3 separate regions of the Homo sapiens genome follow, and all the other regions are linked to region 1. The links are contacts of gene promoters, found by promoter capture Hi-C in blood cells and fetal thymus (Javierre and others, 2016). All regions are on one chromosome and are shown on one strand. Each heading gives the region's core, a stretch centred on a gene start or on the middle of the fragment in contact. The rest is flanking DNA. Distances are from core to core; before and after follow the strand shown. Region 1 holds the start of CD86 (CD86 molecule). Region 2 holds the start of SLC15A2 (solute carrier family 15 member 2). Region 3 holds the start of CASR (calcium sensing receptor).

What was found. The method cuts DNA at HindIII sites, captures the fragments that hold promoters and counts their contacts. A CHiCAGO score of 5 or more calls a contact.
Region 2: the fragment with the promoter of SLC15A2 here is called in contact with the fragment with the promoter of CD86 in region 1 in 12 of 17 cell types (M2 macrophages, total B cells, naive B cells and 9 more); the score reaches 18.4 in M2 macrophages.
Region 3: the fragment with the promoter of CASR here is called in contact with the fragment with the promoter of CD86 in region 1 in 16 of 17 cell types (neutrophils, monocytes, M0 macrophages and 13 more); the score reaches 14.6 in neutrophils.

The regions. Positions count from the first base shown.
Region 1 is chr3:122,054,026-122,056,736 of GRCh38, reverse strand. It overlaps CD86 (CD86 molecule), which reads right to left and starts at 1,375. Exons shown (of 7, transcript NM_175862.5): 1 at 1,234-1,375. The coding sequence starts at 1,247. It also overlaps a transcript of ILDR1 not described here. The HindIII fragment of the contact is 6,821 bases long and covers 1,343-2,711 here.
Region 2 is chr3:121,893,055-121,895,765 of GRCh38, reverse strand. It overlaps SLC15A2 (solute carrier family 15 member 2), which reads right to left and starts at 1,365. Exons shown (of 22, transcript NM_021082.4): 1 at 1,185-1,365. The coding sequence starts at 1,289. RefSeq lists enhancers at 1,873-2,405, 2,406-2,711. The HindIII fragment of the contact is 13,918 bases long and covers 1,031-2,711 here.
Region 3 is chr3:122,182,304-122,185,014 of GRCh38, reverse strand. CASR (calcium sensing receptor) reads right to left here and starts at 1,347. Exons shown (of 7, transcript NM_000388.4): 1 at 1,203-1,347. The HindIII fragment of the contact is 2,199 bases long and covers 1,083-2,711 here.

The sequences.
Region 1 (2,711 bases), core at 126-2,625:
TTCTGAAATAAAAGCAACAAAGCTTTTTCTCAAACCAGTAAGCACTGGGTAGATGAAAGTTACTTCGATTTTCAAAGAACAGTAATTATAAATACATAGTGACGGCCGGGTGCGCGGTGGCTCACGCCTGTAATCCCAGCACTTTGGGAGGCCGAGGTGGCCAGATCACAAGGTCAAGAGATCGAGACCATCCTGGCCAACATGGTGGACCCCGTCTCTACCAAAAATACAAAAATTAGCCGGGCGTGGTGGTGGGCGCCTGTAGTCCCAGCTACTCAGGAGACTGAGGAAGGAGAATCGTTTGAATCCGAGAGGCGGAGGTTGCAGTGAGCTGAGATTGCGCCACTGCACTCCAGCTTGGCGACAGAGCGAGACTCTGTTTCAAAAATAAATAATTAAAAATAAATAAATACATAGTGACTGGCGCCAGCTGCCACCACCCAAGAGAAGGGCGGGTGTGACTCCTTCCAGGAAGTCTCCACAGCATGGAGAAACCTTCTGGCGCACCACGAAGCGGGCAGGAAAGATTTTAGCTCTACCCCTTATGAATAGTGTGAACTTGGGCAAGTTTTTTAAGCCACAGTTACCCCATCTGTCAAAAAGAATGATGATGTCTTTCCAAAAGTCATTGTGAAGAATAAAATTCAATGAAATAGCACTAGTAAAGTACCCAGCACATCATGCATGTTCAATACATGGTAACTAATTTAATCACTCTACCTCCTTCCACTACCCAACCCTGCCCAGAATCTCCCATGGCCTGATTATGACATATTAACTGAGTTTTGCATTTTCTCCTTATACCTCTTTTTTCTCTTTCTTTTTCTTGATCTCTCTCCCTCTACCTTCTCTATCTCATTCCTCCACCCTCAGACCAAACTGACCCTGGTAGACAAAAAACATATTCCCTGTTATTTGTCATTCTTATGCAGATATTTTAAAAATTCCTGATTCTTCACTAAAATCAATGACTGTAACATTCAGTATTTGAATAACAGATTTACAAAACCAAAATTAGGCACCTAAAAATATATATAACTACCACCAATGAACTGCTTTGGGCATTGCAAATAATTCTTGCCTTTATGTGCCAAAGATCTTTTGTAGAAAAAGAAAGCTTCTCCACTTAGGAACTAAGTGAAGGACACACATCAAAGCACCATCTTCAACCTCAGCCTTTCACTGCAGTCACAACTCATAACTTCTCTGCAAAGAATAAGAATTATTACTCACCACTGGGGATCCATTTTGGCTGCTTCTGCTGTGACCTAATATCTGGAAATGACCCCACTCATCCGTGTGTCTGTGCTAGTCCCTGTTACAGCAGCAGAGAAGCAAAGCTTTCACCCTGTGCAAGCCTTCCTCGGCAATGACTGTATACCTACCCAGCTAACTTTCTTTAAGAGAAGCTGTTCCTCTTTTCTCTACAGATTTTGACCACACTTGAGGAAGAAATTTAACCCTTTCCTTGCAGTTTAAACTCATTGACGTAGGTCTATATGTATTAAAGAATATATAATTCAGTAGCTTGAGTTCCAGACATGACGTTAAGATGAGCCTGAATAAAAAATCTCCCCTCTTGAAATTCCCTCAAAAAACCTAGAAAATAAAATAATTAGAAAGAGAAAACAAACCTCCGCAGCAACAAAATAGAATAAAGAGGCATTCTACAGATTTTGATAAGATAATAAAAAGTGATTTATTGTGGATGTGGATTGGGAGTGAGTAGCCACCTAACCCTGCCAATTTCCACAACCAAAGTGTGGAGAGTTTCACTGAGCTGGGGTGGGGGGATGGGAGATGGGGAGATGTTCTGTAAGGACTGCATAACCAAGGAGGGCAGACAGAAGCTACTGCTTTTATTATTTCATTCCTACTATAGCCAAGGATTACATTGATGAAAGCGAATATTCTGAAACAGAAGTCTGAAAAAAAGGCAGCATTATAAAATTAATAGATGTCCCTAAGAGACAAACATAGAATTAATCAAGCAGAAACTATACTAGAAGATATTTCCTCGTATGAATTAAAATGGGCATCATCTAGAAACTCAAACTGTTTAGTGTATCAAAGCAAAAGTTATGAAAATCGATTCTCATCCAGACAAATCATTTTGAACATTTTAAATTCCAAAGGCAAAGCTAAAAACAAAATGAAAACAGAATGACTACAGAGAAACAAAAAACAACTTGGCATCTTACTCAACCCTAAATGGCAAAAAACAACAGAACAATATCTGCAGAATTTTGAATTAGCATTATCTACCTAGATAAGATGCCAGTTAAGTGTCAAGTCAATAGAAATATGTCACCAAGCAGGCAAGAAAACAACAACTGCAACAGAAATACCACCACCAAGACAGCCTTCCTAAATAAATTATTTAAGGATATATTCCAGAATAATAAATGAATTAAAATAGCCTTAAAATGGAGAAGCCATGGCTGAAAACACCAGTGCTGAGCTTTAAAGCAAGTTAAACATGGAGAAATAAGGCTAAATAATTATAAATTAGTTTAGACCAAAATGCTAAATAAGAAAAACTTATTAGAAGTAGATTACATATATTATTTCAAGGAAGTTTAAAAATAGCAGATGACATCACTGCTAACTAGAGCAAGGAAGCAAAATCAACACAATTATTAATCTTCAAATAAGAAGATAGAACAATGATTATTTTATCAACTTTGATAATTTCATCTGGATTTGAGAAT
Region 2 (2,711 bases), core at 116-2,615, 160 kb after region 1:
CATGATAATCCTACTGGACATTAAAAGAATTATGCTTTTCATGTAATATATCAGTCAGAATATAAGGAATGTTATGTTTTATTTTAATTCCCTATCTATTACAATAGACCAACTAACATGAGAAGAGACATAGAGGTATCTGTCCTCAGTACAGTCAAATCTTGTAAGATTTATATTGCCTCATTTCATGAGAAGTATATACATCTTTGCAAGTAGCCCTAAATTCTTTGGGACCAGAAGAGATATCATTAACTAAAAAAATAGGCAAAATAATAAAGTAATGTATTATTCTTTTAACCCTAGGGATATATATAAATGATCCTCCTAAATATTAATATATTTTAATGTTTTATAATAGCTTGTTTGAAACATACAATGAACTGGGCTTCTTACCTTTGCAGCTCACAGCTTGAGAATTATGCAATCTGGAGTTTAGCCGACACACTGTTAGCTAGTTAGGCAACACTGCCACTGGCTGTGTTAACATACTGATACTGGCATTGTCACTACACCTGTCTCAAAACCTCTGTTCTGTTATTCCAAAGAAATGAGAATAACATCACCTTTTGGCCCACTGTAAGAACTCAGTAAATTTTGGCTATCATTACTATATCCTCCCCACTTACAGAATTTTAGTGTAAGAATTGACTGAGATGATGAGTTTAGAAGTGCTTTAGCGAGTATATAAATGCAAAACATTACTATTCTCTGTTTCTCTGTCCTATCTCCCACAGTAAACTGGGAACACATAGTAACAGAAATTGGATCTATTCTGAAACTTCCATTGGTGTTCAGCAGAAGACTCTGCACACAGGGAGAACTAAGGGCAGAGTTTTTATATTGGTAAAGAAAGAACAATCACACACAGTTCTTCAGACAAGAATGCTTGCCAAGTTTCCCTGGACATTCGAATTGCTTTTTTCCCCCAGGGAAACAGAATATGCAATGAAATTCAGCAAGTCCCTGGATCCCAACTGAAGAACTTTGACTACCTCTTCCTGCTGCTTTGTCTTCTTATGTAAAGGAAGCTTCTGTTTAGATTTGGTTTCAGGTGAATTCTAAATCCAAGAGAGAAGCATTTTAATACCCTAATACAGCTCAGCTGGAAGCTCCAGAGCCCAAGGAAGAGAGCCAAAAGAGGGAGGCCATTCCTCTCAGAGGCAGGATTGAATCTAAGGACTCACCGGAGATGGCTTCTTTGGAGGGCTAGGTGGTCGAGGTGGTACCTCTTCAATGGAGACAGGTGAAAAAAGAGTTTCCTTGGACTCATTTTTCTGGAAAGGATTCATGGCTGGCTCCTTACTCTCTCTCTCTCCTCAAGCATTTGGCTTTAGTAGGCAGTTAGGACAGCTGCCAGCCTACTCTGAAAAGAAGGACTGGGAGGGGGAGCTGGTGGCTTCAGCAACTCAGTTTAACTCTGTGGGTGTCAGCTTCAATAGCTTCCTGATCCAGAGCAAAGCAGGAAGCTATAGTTAAAAAGAATGTGTAAAAGTACAGCACAGCAAAGTGAAAACATGCCAAAGACAGAATGAAACAATGCTAGAGAACTGATTAGAAAGTCTATGTTTAAGAAAGATTATCTTTGCAAAGGAGTAGAAGATAGTTAAGAACACAACACCTCGAGCACAGATTGAAAAACTGATTCCATGGTCAGGCGCGGTGGTTCACGCATATAATCCTAGCACTTTGGAAGGCCCAGGCAGGCGGATCGTTTTAGGTCAGCAGCCTGGCCCACATGGTGAAACCCCGTCTCTACTAAAAATACAAAAAAAAAATTAGCTGGGTGTGGTGGCGGGCGCCTATAATCCCAGCTACTCAGGAGGCTAAGGCAGAAGAATCACTTGAACCTGGGAGGCGGAGGTTGCGGTGAGCTGAGATTGCACCATTGCACTCCAGCCTGGGCAACAAGAGCGAAACTCCATTTCCAAAAAAAAAAAAAAAGAAAAACTGATTTCAGGGTAACAATAGCTGTAATTTATTGAACATCTACTATTGAAAGGTTAATATATATGAATTACATCTATGTTGTATATCTATAACATATATATTTATTCTAATTCATATTACTATCCCCATTTTATAGAAAGTAATGTTCCCAGAGGTTAAGAAATTTGTTCAAAGTACCTGTCCACTAAGTGGCAGATCTGGAATTTTCACTATGCCATGACAGCTGGGAAAAGTGGAGTTAGTGTCAGTCATTATTCAGGTATGGAGGTTACATAAATGGAATGTAGGAATGCAGAGGATTAAAATGCATTGGAGAAGGAAAGTCATCATAAAACTGAGTTTGGAAGATAAGAAAGATGGTGAGTTTTGGCTGGGTGCAGAGGCTTACGCCTGTAATCCCAACACTTTGGGAGGCCGAGGTGGGCTGATCACAGCTCAGGAGTTCAAGATTAGCCTGGCCAACATAGTGAAACCCCATCTCTACTAAAAATACAAAAATTAGCTGGGTGTGGTGGCACGCGCCTGTAGTCCCAGCTACTCAGGAGGCTGAGGCAGGAGAATCGTTTGAACCCAAGAGGCAGAGGTTGCAGTGAGCCGAGACCCCACCACTGCACTCCAGCCTGGGCGACGGAGCAAGACTTGAAAGAAAGAAAGAAAAGAAGGGAAAGAAAGGAAAGAAAGAAAGAAAAGAAGGGAAAGAAAGGAAAGAAAGAAAAGAAAAGAAAGGAAGGAAGGAAGGAGACTTTTGTTTTCAACATCATAAA
Region 3 (2,711 bases), core at 98-2,597, 130 kb before region 1:
AAGCAAAGTTCCCAAGACAGCTGGTAGCTTGGACCAGGAATCCTGTGGGGGCACTGACGGCCCCTGGGGCCAGAGCTGACTCTGTGGCCCTCCCCTCCATATTCATACACTCTGTAAAAGCTACCTGTCCCCTTGTTAACACGTGGCAAGCGAGTCCTTTCTGACTATATCACAGGCAGAAACAAGGCAGAGGCACAAGAAACTACCAACAGCAGGCGTTTTGGTGCGCGCTCCCGTTCATTCGCGTGGGCGACCCGCTGCCCCTTCTAGGGGCACTGAACAATCCAGTTCTGAGCCGGGGAAAGCCTTGATCCTGTAATCTGGTCCCTACTTTCCCCCACGTTCACGCCCAATGCTCCCAGGCTGGAGCTGCTCCGGCGTGTGCCCCTCGTTCGGCCCGGAGCCCTTGGCCCCCAGACCCCGCCACGGCCCCTCCCCCACCAGGGGCGCTTTCCTCCCGCCCTCCTTGGGTTCCCCGGTCCTACCTGCGCCGCGGCCAGGGCTCCCTCGCACAGAGGCAGCTCCGGCCCCTCGGCCGTGGGTCTCCACGAGGATGAGCTCTGGTCTGATCTCAGGACTGCGCGCAGCCCCGCTCCCTATGCCAAGGTCACGGTCTTGGAGAGGCGCGTCTGGCTCGCTGCGCTCCCGGCGCCCGCCTTCGGGTCCGGCCACAGCAGCCCCCGCAGACCCTCTGGGCGGCCGCTGCGGCCCCGGCCCCGGCCCCGGAGCTCCGCCCCTCTCCTGCTCCCCGCCCGCTTGCCCCCTCGGGGTCCCCAACTGCCGAGCCCAGCTCCCCTCGTAGCCCACTCGCGGGCTGCCTTCTAACCCCTACCCCAGTTAGTCCCGGTTCCTTCACCGTCTCCTTAGCCCGCAGAGAGCTTAGCTGACTCTTCAGGGTCGCTGAGGGCGCGTCTTCGGTTCCCCGAGGGCCACAGGCCGGCTCGGGTCCCCAGCAGACGGCGAGCCCCGCGCTTAGGTCCTCTCCTGCCCTCTCCCGTGCCGAGCCAGGGGTTCCCGGCTCTCAAATCCTGTTCCCGCTGTCCTCTTCCCTGACCCCTACTCCTTGGCGATGGAAAGAAGCTTAGGGCGCTTACGACGCCACCAACGTTCTCTGTGCCGAGGGTGGCACAATTTTTTTTTTTCTGATATAAGGCCAGAGATTCACAGTAAAATAAATACAAATCGCGTGCCCAAACTCTTACTCATTCTGCAAGACTCAGGTCAAGCGTTGCCTGTGCCGCAAGACCTCGGTGCTGGCAAACAGCTCCCTCCTTCCACTCTCCTGCGCGAAAGGGCGTGCGGTCCTTCCTGGCTGCAGCCAGGTGCCTGTTGCACTTGGTCTACTCTACCCGACTCCACAGCGCGCTGCTTGGAGGCCCGGACCTGGCCTTGCTTATCCTTGTCCCTAGCCCCTGGCACGGTGCCTGCCACCCATCACAGCACTAGAATATTTTATGAATAAGTGGAAAATTAATTTCTTTTGTAGAAAACCAGTTTTTTTGTATGTGTTTGTTTGTTTTTGGCTTTTTACTCTCAAATAAAGCATACTCCTTTGGGTGGGCAATTTGCTAGGCTCTATAAAGAAACACCAAAAATATTATCCCCTTTAATGCAGTATTCCACCCTTGCGGAAATTTCCAGAACAAAATAATATTCGTGCGGAGATTTTTTTTTTAGCAGGATCATTTGTTACAGAAAATAATTTTAAAAACCACAAAAAGCAAACAGAGCCAAACTGTCAACAGTAGGAAATTTGTTGAATAAATTAGGGTGACTTAATGGGACATTATACAACCATTAAAATGATAAACATCAAGACAGAAGTGCTTCAAATTCTTTTTAGAATAAGGAGGGAGTATGTATTTATTTATAAAGCAAAAAAAAAATAGGAAAACATGAAGTAACATGATAAAATGTTTGCAAAATACTGTTAAGCAAAAAGCAGAAAATTGGGTCGTTTACCATGTTTAAGAACTTCAAATAAAAATGCAGATTTCTTCTCTGCAAAATGGCGATAACATCTACCTCAGGGGGTCCTTGGAGTGTTAAATGAAATAGTCAAGGAAAGTGCCCTGTATAGAATGGATACTCAACAAAGTTTCCATTTCTTTTCTTCAATGGAACACAGACTCAAATCCAGCATGTCAAACACATCCTCATTATGGCCAAGTTCTGCCCATTTGGCTTCCTTTCCCTCAAATACAGGGTAGGAGAAGGAGCTGAGCAAATGCTAAAGCACCAGTGAAGGGGGCAAAATCTGGTTAATAGGAATAAATGTGAAGTCCTCCCTCAGGCCGAAACACCCAGCAATGTAAGTAATGGAGGATGTGGCTCAGTAGTGGTGCCTATCAAAATACCTTAGATTTTATTTTAGTTGGCTACAAGCACAGCTTTGTGAACACCCAAAGGCTGAACGAGTTCAGTTCAAAACCCGAATGAGGCTGCAATCTTAGGCTGAACTGATGCTCTTCACTGGTCGGATTACACCTGGGCATAATGTCCAAATTTGGGCACTATCTTTAAGAAAGTATTACTCTGAAGATCTATTATTGCTTCCATTTTAAAGACGAAGAAACTGATGCATACAGTTTCAGGTATTTAGGGTTGGGTGGCTAGGAGTTGGCAGAGCCAAGAGCTGAACCTGATCAGCTTGACTTACAGTCCTGGTGCTTGATCACTTTACCAGTGTGTCCCAGTGTGTACATCTTCCA